Linked DNA regions of Homo sapiens: all the other regions are linked to region 2. Evidence: promoter capture Hi-C in 16 types of primary human blood cells and fetal thymus (Javierre and others, 2016). All regions are on one chromosome and are shown on one strand. Each heading gives the region's core, a stretch centred on a gene start or on the middle of the fragment in contact. The rest is flanking DNA. Distances are from core to core; before and after follow the strand shown.

What was found. The method cuts DNA at HindIII sites, captures the fragments that hold promoters and counts their contacts. A CHiCAGO score of 5 or more calls a contact.
Region 1: a contact is called between a fragment that was not itself captured here and the fragment with the promoter of METTL14 in region 2, in 1 of 17 cell types (total B cells). The highest score is 7.1, in total B cells.
Region 3: a contact is called between a fragment that was not itself captured here and the fragment with the promoter of METTL14 in region 2, in 1 of 17 cell types (total CD4 T cells). The highest score is 5.3, in total CD4 T cells.

The regions. Positions count from the first base shown.
Region 1 is chr4:120,074,750-120,078,233 of GRCh38, reverse strand. The region is part of intron 1 of MAD2L1-DT (MAD2L1 divergent transcript); the gene reads right to left. Among named protein-coding and RNA genes, the nearest start is that of MAD2L1-DT, 9.5 kb to the right of the region's middle. The HindIII fragment of the contact is 1,023 bases long and covers 753-1,775 here.
Region 2 is chr4:118,683,917-118,687,536 of GRCh38, reverse strand. It overlaps METTL14 (methyltransferase 14, N6-adenosine-methyltransferase non-catalytic subunit), which reads right to left and starts at 2,145. Exons shown (of 11, transcript NM_020961.4): 1 at 1,937-2,145. The coding sequence starts at 2,002. It overlaps METTL14-DT (METTL14 divergent transcript), which reads left to right and starts at 2,196. Exons shown (of 7, transcript NR_125930.1): 1 at 2,196-2,232; 2 at 3,070-3,129. RefSeq lists enhancers at 1,607-1,746, 1,927-2,186. The HindIII fragment of the contact is 9,570 bases long and covers 1,694-3,620 here.
Region 3 is chr4:120,055,666-120,059,166 of GRCh38, reverse strand. MAD2L1 (mitotic arrest deficient 2 like 1) reads left to right here. Exons shown (of 5, transcript NM_002358.4): 5 at 1-3,501. Among named protein-coding and RNA genes, the nearest start is that of MAD2L1, 9.4 kb to the left of the region's middle. The HindIII fragment of the contact is 1,407 bases long and covers 1,380-2,786 here.

The sequences.
Region 1 (3,484 bases), core at 15-2,514, 1.4 Mb before region 2:
CTTTTAAGCACAAAATTTTTAAAAAATTCCTGTTTTTGCAGCCCTAGTCAGGGTACCCCTTTTGGCCATCCACTCTTAGCCAGATGAGCCAGTATTGCACCCTGGATCCTACCTCTTGTTTCTTTTCCTCCAGTTTTGGACTCTTTTCTTCCACTTTTGGATTATTTTCCTTGTTCCAATTCTGTGACTTTCCAGCCATTCAGCTCCATTGGTTTCCATTGCTGAATGGGTCTCAGGAGTTACATAGCAAGGATGGAGGAATATTAAGGACCCACTATAGTTTGCCTCAAATTAGAGTTATCTAAAATATAGTCAGATCTTTGATGCTTTCAGGATTCATATTCTGGTACCATCTAGATTGCTTGGATTTGACTCCAGTTCTCCTAGCTGGGTGACCTTAGCTAAATTATTCAACTTCCTTCTGTAACTTAATTCAGGTAATAGTAGTATCTAACTCTTGAGCTAATGAGGGATTAAATAAAATGATTCTTGTAAAGCACATAGAAATGTGCCTGGCAGATAGTATGTGGTTAATAATGTTGGCTATCATTATTATATATGTTATAAGAGTTTCTATCTCATCTGTGCCTTAAGTTGTATTATCTAAAGCCTCCTTTAGTTATGCTAAACTAAACATGTACCAACCCAGGAAAGGTGCGTGGAAAAGTGGTGAAAAGCTGTCTTATTAACAACAACAGTAACAATATAATAATAAAACAATAACAATAACATATTAGCATTAAGCCAAAGCTTCATTTAAATTATCTCATGTAATACTCAGAAAAATTATATGTGACAAGTACTATTGTTACATCCATTTTACCGATAAGGAAAATAACTCCTATATAATTCTTCTTAAATTGTCCAGATAGTCTGCTTCTAAGAAGTTTCTCTGGAACATGCTAGGCTAACATCTTTTTTTGACATATCTGCATGTGATCTCTGCTGTTGGTAGATTGCTTGGAGATTCCTGCTTCTTTTAGACAAGACCATGACACTCCCTCATTATGCAACCAGTAATAAAGTTTTTTTTTTTTATGTGATCTAAGTGGACTTTTATGACAGGATTTGTTGAAACCCCTAAGATGGCTTTTATTCTGTGCTTTGGGCAGTGGTAAATAGATGGGGTTCAAGAGTCTGGAGCACTCCTTCCCAATAAGAATGTATTTTCCTTACAGGATTGTTCTGCAAAGTCCATTATAAAGAATGATAGCTCACGCCGGGCATGGCGGCTCACACTTGTAATCCCAGCACTTTGGGAGGTCAAGGTGGGTGAATCACTTGAGGCCAGGAGTGCAAGACCATCGAAACCTTGTCTCCACTAAAAAATACAACAATTAGCTGGGTGTGATGGTGCATGCATGTAATCCCAGCTACACAGGAGGCTGAGGAATAAGGATCACTTGAACCTGAGAGGCGATGATTGCAGTGAGCTGAGATGGTGCCACCACGCTCCAGCCTGGGTGAAAGAGCAAGACTCTGTCTCAGAAAAAAAAAAAAAAAAAAAAGAATGATACTTCAAATTTCCACATAGGCATGCAGGTCAGCCATCCTAACTAGGTCTATTCCATATTTACCTAGAAGAGAGGACAAGCACGGAACACTACTATTCCCAACTCAGGTGCCTCATCCCCTAATCAATAAGGTTTCTGCAAACATCCTCAAAATCAGTGGCTTCCAAAGTGGAATATATGCAAAAAACAATCCTTTTGGGAGTATAGGAAGGAATGTTACAACTTCTATTTAATTTATGTTTTAACCTAGGAAAATAAGCTTTACTAAAAAAATGGATTTCAAAAAATGGACTGACATTGCACACTCACACAGTCTCCATGTCAGAAGGTCACGTTCTTACTCATATGTGGAAGTTAAAAAAGTTGATCCCACAGAAGTAAAAAGTACAACAGAGAATACTAGAGGCTGGGAAGGGTAGGCGGAAAGAGAGGACAGAGAGATTTGTTAAAGGAAACAAAATTACAGCTAGATAAGAGTAAGTTCTAGTGTTCTACAGCACTTGTAGGATGACTACATCCTACAAGTTAATAATAGTTTAAAATAGCTAGAATGGGGATATTGAATGTTTGAAACACAAAGAAATTATAAATGTTTAAGATGATAGATAGGCTGATTACCCTGATCTGATCACTATACATTGTATAGACCACAACATCACTATGCACCCTGTAAATATGTACAATTATTATTTGTCAGTTTTAAAAATTTAGAAAAAAAAGGGAGTCATAGGCCATGATTGGTACCCTGAGGAAATGCAAGTCAGCTGTGCCAGATTTACTGGCTCTTTCTCTTTGCAGTACTGTGCTAACAAGAACTTCAGAAAAATTAACATTCTTCCATTCCGTTTTTCAAAAGACACTCATGTTATGGAAGGAGCACGTTTGAATAAACTTTTTTTTTTTTTTGAGATGGAGTCTCGCTCTGTCACCCAGGTTGGAATGCAGTGGCACGATCTCAGCTCACTGCAAGCTCCAGCTCCCGGGTTCATGCCATTCTCCTGCCTCAGCCTCCTGAGTAGCTGGGACTACAGGTGCCCGCCACCACACCCGGCTAATTTTTTGTATTTTTTTTTTTTTTACAGGGTTTCACTGTGTTAGCCAGGATGGTCTCAATCTCCTGACCTCGTCATCCGCCCTCCTCAGCCTCCCAAAGTGCTGGGATTACAGGCATGAGCCACCGCACCTGGCCTGGATAAACTATTTTTTAAAAAAGTCTCATCTGTACAATTGAAAAGTTTGGAAACAGAGTTCTCTAAACTATAATTTTTCTAAATTACAAATTAGTTCCAAAACTAACTAAAAGGTCAAACAATGCATTTAATTAGTTCCCAAACTAATAGGAAGGTATTGTTTTGATATTTTTTTAAAAAAAAAAGGGTTAAAAAACTGCTTAAACCATTGTTTTTGAACACATTCATTAAAATTATTAAAATATCATATGTCACTTTTTAACCAGCTTGTAAGAACACCTAATTGGTACCATTAAATTGAAATTTAATAATCCCTTTTCAGCAAAAACTTTGCATAATTGCTAATACAGGTAAATAAAAAGAATAAGAAGTCAACAATGTACTTTCTTCCATTTGGACCTTCATATCTTTGTGGTGTATCTCTTTTAGCTCTGCTGGCCAAAAAACACAAACCCCCCAAAACAAACAAAAAAACTATTAAAATAAGCTGAATTATTAGACTTGTAAACCACTCTTTCAAAAATAATTAAACCATGATTTTTAAAAGCAATGAAACATATTCACTGCAAAAATCTTAATATGGTTATTAATATATTTAGTGAAAGTAAAAATAATTTATTTTCTAATAATATAAACAGAATTATTTTAAAAGTATTTCTCATCTTTCTTAATTTCGAACAACTGGTATGATTTAAACACATATGCTATACCTAACACTGTGGAAAATGTTTATAATTTAGAGATAAATAACCAACATTTACATAAGTATATTCATAACTT
Region 2 (3,620 bases), core at 896-3,395:
CCACCGTAAGTCAATGAGCAGCCTGGATGCCTATCACTCTCAAACCATCATAAAGTCAATTGTTAAGTCAAATGATAGTAAGTCTGGAACCATCTGTATTTGAAAATAAGACACTTTAGCCAATTTCCTGTGAAGCAATACACACGATTTAATATAAAATGAGCATTCCAAATCTGAAAATCCAAAATCCAAAACGCTCCAAAATCTGGAACTTTTTGAGTACTGACATGACATTCAAAGGAAATGGTCACTGAAGCATTCCGATTTTGAGTTTTGGTATTTGGCATGCTCAACCAGTAAGTAATATGCAAATATTCCAAATCCTGAAAAAAATCTGAAATCCAAAACACTTCTGGCCCAAGCATTTCAGATAAGAGATATTCAACCTGCAATAGCAATAACTAAAAAAGGCAGATAAGACAGTGTTTGCACAGGGTTGTGGGTACCATGTTAAACATTTTGTAGGCATCAGCTTATATAACTTATTTATTCTATGCTCTAATAAAAATCGATCCAGTTTTACTCAAGCTAAGTCTTACTATTTATAGACACAAGGCTGAACTTTACTACCTTAAAATGGTAACATAAATTTTGTTTGGCAGTTTGGAAAATTTTGCAAAATACAAACAAATGTAAACAAATAATGGTTATAAGGCTGGCTAAGTAGAGTGCAACCAATTCATAAAAGACTTTAAAAGGTAGAGCCCCTGGCATCTGCTGAGTGTAAAACACTAAACAAATAATTGTCCTATGAATGTATATTGAGTCAAATAGAAGTTTGAATTCAATATTAAGGAGTAAAACGTCTTCTGTGGTAGCAACAAAGAGCTACTTAACATTTTTGAAGATAATACGATAAAAGAAGTTGGCGAAAAGAAGACTTAGAAAGGATACTTGATTTGCCCAAGATCGTAATGCCAGCGGGATAAGGAACAAAGGAACAAATCTGACTCCAAGTTTCCACGGTTTTAGCCATATTCCACAAATCTGTTCATCAGACCATAAAGAGGATAGGTTTCAGAAGTCCATTTACTAAAACCAAGTTTCATTACTGAAAAATAACTGCAAGATGACTAATTACACTCTATGAGCATTGCTCCTATCACTTTTACTGATCTGAATAGTAGAATGGAAAATACAGCCTCGATTTTAAGTAGAACTGTGCACAATCTGTATTTTCTGCATGTGCACTCTACTAATCAGCAAATGTTAACTTACTCATACACAAGAAAGAAGTGAAGGACAATGGTTTAGAAGACAAGCTTTGGGGAGACAAACCTAGGTTCTATTTCCCAGCAGAGAAGTGAGCGACCAGGAGTAAAATTCCTTAACGTATGGAGCCTTTTTCATTACTTGATAAGTGAAGGTAATAATACCTGTTTCAGGAGATTATTGTGACTAACACAGAGTAAGATTTCAAATATTAACTGTGGATGTGACAAGGATACTCTATATAAGATGCAGAATCTAAAATTTACACTCAGGCTACTTCCAGTGTTGTCTTCAGAAAGATGTCAAAGAAAATACTGTAAACGTATTTCATAATGAAACCACAATCTCAAGAATTTGGGGCTGACGACGAAGAAAAGAAAGAAATAGATGACCATTTAATAGTGAAGAGAAATGTAGGGGATAACATGACACTCATCCTGGCGTGAACATGCCAGACACTCGGTGGGAGTTCCACAAAGCTTAAAGGCTAATCCTGGCATTCGGTTTAGCACCACAAAGACCGCGGAAGGAACTGGAAAAACATTCGGGACACCGCGAAAATTGAGAACTACAAAGGCAGAACCAGGGATCAAGATCGCAGGACCAGAAAGGCCTTAACAGCGGCAGGTAGAGAAGGGACAGAAAAAGGCGGGGTGTGGAGGGAGGAGGCGGCCGCGCACTCGCATTCTCGATCCCTCCCACAGGGGACACCAGGGCCGCGGACCTGCTGCGCGAGGAGCTGTCGCCGTAACTTCTGCCGCTCCCGGATCTCCTGCAAGCGGCTATCCATGTTCCAACTCCGGCTTTTCACTATCCCGAGTACTTGTCAATCTCCAGTGAACTCTTATCCAACCTTTCTTCCGAGTCTGTGGAACAAAATTCACCGGGAGCTTACGAACAGAGTATCCTCATAGCTTTCCTCAGTAGAGACTTCCGGCGCGGCCGGAATTGGCTCGCTTGGCCCGGAAGTCCCGCCTCCTTCTGGACGCTTGCTATGTGACGCCACTTGGAAGGGACCCAGTAAGGGATCTGTTGCGCCACAGGGGTCTCCAGGGCCCTCGCAGGTTGGGGTGGTCTGAGCTAGTCTGAAGGAGGACAGTCAGCTGACTTCTCCTTTATCTCTCTTTCCCAGGATAGCAGGTTCCCTTGGTGTATTACAGTTTCTGAAGTGTTGATTCCCTTTTCAATTGATTCCACAGATGACAGTCCTGACGTTTAAAAAATTGCCAGATAACCTTTAATTTTTTTTTTTTTAACAGAACACAAACTTAAGCCAGATTGCCTAGGATTGAACCTTGGCCTCTCACTTCCTAGACGAGTGGCCTTGGCTAGTTAACCACCTTCGTGAGCCTCAGTTTTGTCATCTGTAAAATGGGAGTCATAAGTGTCTACCTCACAGAGCTGTGATTGAAAGGATAAATAGCACCTTGCACATAGCGGTGTAGAAGTGCTTGTTATTGTTAATATTTTATTTACCTTCACGCAGGTAACAGCCACAACATCTGCCCACTCTTCCCCACACCTTACTGTCCCTTGAAATGTTTCCCATTTTACTATAGTATGCATTTTTTGGCTTCTTCCCTTTAGGGAAATGAGTATGTGATAGTAAAGCGTGTCTTGGTTTATGTCCTAGGAGTCAGAAGCTAAGAGACTCCTTTTTGTGCTTGTACATTTGTCTTAACTGAAAATAACCCAAGGATAAGGAAACAAATAGCTTCCTGAAATTACTCGGATTGCGGGGGTGAGGGGTGAGGGCTGGGGGGTGGTGATTCTGTCTTCATAGGATGGCAGCAAAGGCCAAAGTCTTATTTGAGTTATTACCATTATTATTCACCACACTTGCCATCTTATTTCAAGCCTACAGTGGCGGAAGTGGAGTAAGACATCATGTTGCCTCAAGTTTAATTGGAAATCGCGGTAAGTACTTAACAAAATTAGTAATAAGTCTGTTCTTTCAGAGTAGATTTAATTTTCAGAAATAATATTAAGTCATCCAGATCAAAACCAGTTGAGTCAGGCTGGGCCAAAAGTGGGCAAGACTAGATTCTACTTAGTCATGCCCACTTTTATAGAAATAATTATAATGTATTTCCGAAGAACTAGGTCTGAAAGACAATTTTGAACAAGTAGTCCTAAACAATTCCTTGAGTAATGTCAGCACTACTTGGATACTGTAAAATATTTATGTCCATATGAGTTAAAGTGTATTTCTTTAAAAATCAGTTGTATTATCTGGCAATCATTTAAGTTGAATACTGATTTAAATTTTACCAATGGTGAGAATAGGCAATTATTCACTTAAATATCTGTTGATATTGATTGAGCATTTTATATGGCAAGCACTGTGATAGGCCCTAGAGTCTATAAAGTCTGTCAAAGATTAAAAACTAAAGTCGGTTTTTCTTTAT
Region 3 (3,501 bases), core at 834-3,333, 1.4 Mb before region 2:
AAGTGTTGATTTTAGTACTTTACTATACTCTTAGCCTTATTGTCAGCCTACTTTTCCTTATATACTTAAATACTATGCTTATTCCTGTGCTTTCATTAATACCCTCATCTGGTACATGCTTTCTATCCAGTTCTCACCTGTTTTTCCAAGGTCAGTTTAAGGCAGATTTGTAAAGTCTTCTCTAATCTCTAATCTAAATCTGACCTCATTTTGTAAAAATTCAGTTTATTAATGTTTATTATTAGACACTAAGTTCTTTATGTGTATTAACTTATTTAACCTTCACTATTTTTAAGTAATTGCACATAGTCTGAATCTGTTCATTCAGAAATTACATATTGAGCAAATACTGTGGATCAGTGGCAGTTTCTGGGTTCTCAGTGACAAATTTGTAGACTCTTCATATCTTTATGGAATAAGTGGACCACTGGTGTTACCAACCTAGATGATTTCAAGAAAAGTGGCAATTAAATGCTTCATTTGTATTTTAACTATTTGAGAAGTCAGACTAAATTCTGCGAAATCACTTTTCCCCCCCAAGATGGAGTCTTATTCTGTCGCCCAGGCTGGAGTACAGTGACGCAGCTCAGCTCACTACAGCCTCTGCCTCCCGGATTCCAGCCATTCTTCCGTCTCAGCCTCCTGAGTAGCTGGGATTACAGGCACGTGCCACCACACCTGGCTAATTTTTATATTTTTAGTAGAGAGAGGGTTTCACCATGTTGGCCAGGCTAGTCTTGAACTCCTGACCTCATGATCTGCCCGCCTTGACCTCACAAAGCATTGGGATTACAGGCGTGAGCCACTGCGCCCGGCTGAAATCACATTTTTAAAGGTTGTGTGTATACTCTGGTCATTTCAACTCAGCTACCAATATTAACAGGATTAAATTCTTAGATTTTTGTATCATTTGCATGCTACTATTTACTCTGAGGTTTCTGGAGAGCTAGTCATGATGAGTCATTTTACCCCTTACAGATTATATAATCAATTAAGAAATACACATTTTGGGCTGGGCGCAGTGGCTCGCGCCTGTAATCCCAGCACTTTGGGAGGCCGAGGCAGGTGGATCACGAGATCAGGAGTTTGAGACCAGCCTGGCCAAGATGGTCAAACCCCGTCTCTACTAAAAATATAAAAATTAGCTGGGCGTGGTGGCGGGCGCATCTCAGCTACTTGGGAGGCTGAGGCAGGAGAAATCGCTTGAACCCATGAGGTGGAGGTTGCGGTGAGCCAAGACCGTGCCACTGTACTCTAGCCTGGGCGACAGAGCAAGGCTCCATCTCAAAAAATAATAAATAAAAAAGAAATACACATTTTGGAGCTGAGTGGGAGCCAAACTATGAGTTTTATTGAGGTGAAGCTATACTGGAAAAGCTTTGCCCTGTAGCTCCAAGTGGACTGTCCCATCCTCTTTCTAGACCTTGAGGCTTACCTCAGGAGGATGATGTTTAAATCAACAGCTGAAAGACTTGTGAGTGGTTTCTACACCATGTTAAAGAGAAGGTTCTAAGACAGCATGATAGGCCTCTAGGCCTGGCCTGGACTCTGGCTCAGTGTTGCTTACCATATGTAGAGGATGAACAGAGGTTAAGCCCATCAAGGTCTGAAGTAGAGCCCAGGAGGAACTGAACTGTATCTGGCTTTCAGGATCCTTTTCCCAGTGTCATCAATCAGAGAAGTCAAACCTCTGTGAGAATGCTTGTGCAGAGGTATAACAGTCTCATGTATTGGTTGGCTTTTGCTGCACCTTTCTCATTCTGTTGGAGGGACATTGGTTAGTCAGGACTCTGAAGGCCAGCTTTTTCACACTGACCAAAGCAAGTGAAGGTCAAGCCTAACTTTAATGGGACCAGGAAGTATACTCCTCCCATGGAGGTGGTGGGAATGGCACCGAGAAGTTTGATGACAGTTATCTAATGGACTAGAGGTTGGCAAACTTTCTGTAAATGGCCAGGTAGTAAATAGTTCTGCTTTTGAAGGCATATGGTCTCTTGCACCTACTCGAGGCTGAAAGCAGCTATAGACAATACATAAATGAATGAGCGTGAGTGTGTTCCAATAAGAAAAAAACATGGCTGTTTGCTTCGGCCCCAGGGTTGTAGCTTACCAGTCCTGTAACAGATCACAGTTTGCTCTTTTGGTCACAAATACTTGAACCCCTCCCTAGTTCAGAGCATTTGATACCGTAATATTTAAAGCTCACTTGTAAAACATCGTTTGTTGCCTCCATCCATAGTATCTCAAACAGAATGTCTCTCCCAAATATACCTAAATTCCATATTCTCTGAAGCACAACCAGCTATTTTCTTGACATACTTCCTAACACACCCCACAGTTCACAATTTGATCTGAAAACTTGTTAAGGGAGGTTCTTTGGCATGTGATGCCATAAAAAGAGAGGTATGGGCTCTCCTTTAAAAAAGAGACCCTTTTTATGAGACTCACAATAGGATAAAGAGCCCATGCCTATTTTTAATCATTTTTTCACTATATAGACATGCATGCTGAAAAATGTTTTTATTAGTATAATGCTAATTATACTGACTTCCTATATATTTTAGCATATAGATTCAAAGATTATTAGCACAATAAGGTAGATAACTTCATAGACCATTTCTTCATCTTGTTTTCATTTAGTATGTAAAATTTATCTAAAATTTACATGAAAGATCAGAATAGCTATGTAATGCTACTTTGTAACTCTTATATTTTCCACCAGATGTCACTAATGCTGTAATATTCAAATTAAGATGACTTTCTTTTGGTTCTAAAGGCTGTAAGCTTATTGGAAAAGCAAGGTTACTCAGCATTGGAATTCCTGGCAACAAATATATAAATACATTAGGGGAATAAACACTTAGCATTTATTATTTACTAGTCACTTCACATGAATTTTTATTTAATTCTCATGCTTTTGTGCACAAGTAAAACTGGGGGTCAATGGGCATGCAAATTGTGTCGTGGTTTTTGAAGTTTAGTGGTCTCTCCTATCCCTGGCCAAGGAAGTATGCAAATTGTATTGTGGTTTTTGAAGTTTAGGTGATCTCTTCCTTCTATCCCTAGCCAAGGAAGTTCATCCTGACTCCCCAACAAGCATATCAAAAGGAGTGTTTCGTCACCTTTTTCCTCTTACCCTTTACATCCTTTTAGCAATAAAGTGTTCAGAACAAACTGGTTTTCCTTTACTGTGCTTTGCAAAACTTATTCATGTTTTATTGGGTGACTTTGTATTTACACTTTCCTCAGATAGTCTGTTGTCAGATGACTTTGACCAATGATTGGGAGGAACCAAATACAGAGGATTTTATCCTATGCCTAATCTATATTGTCTACAGAGTAAATCAGGTATGAATTTGTGAACAGTAATGAAACAATTTTCCAACTAATCAGAAGAATTGTTTGTTAAGTAACCTTAATTACTCAGTTTTTGGTGAATTGTTTGCGGCTTAACTTGTAAATAATTTCTTATTCTTTTTTTAAATGTATGAAATATTTCTA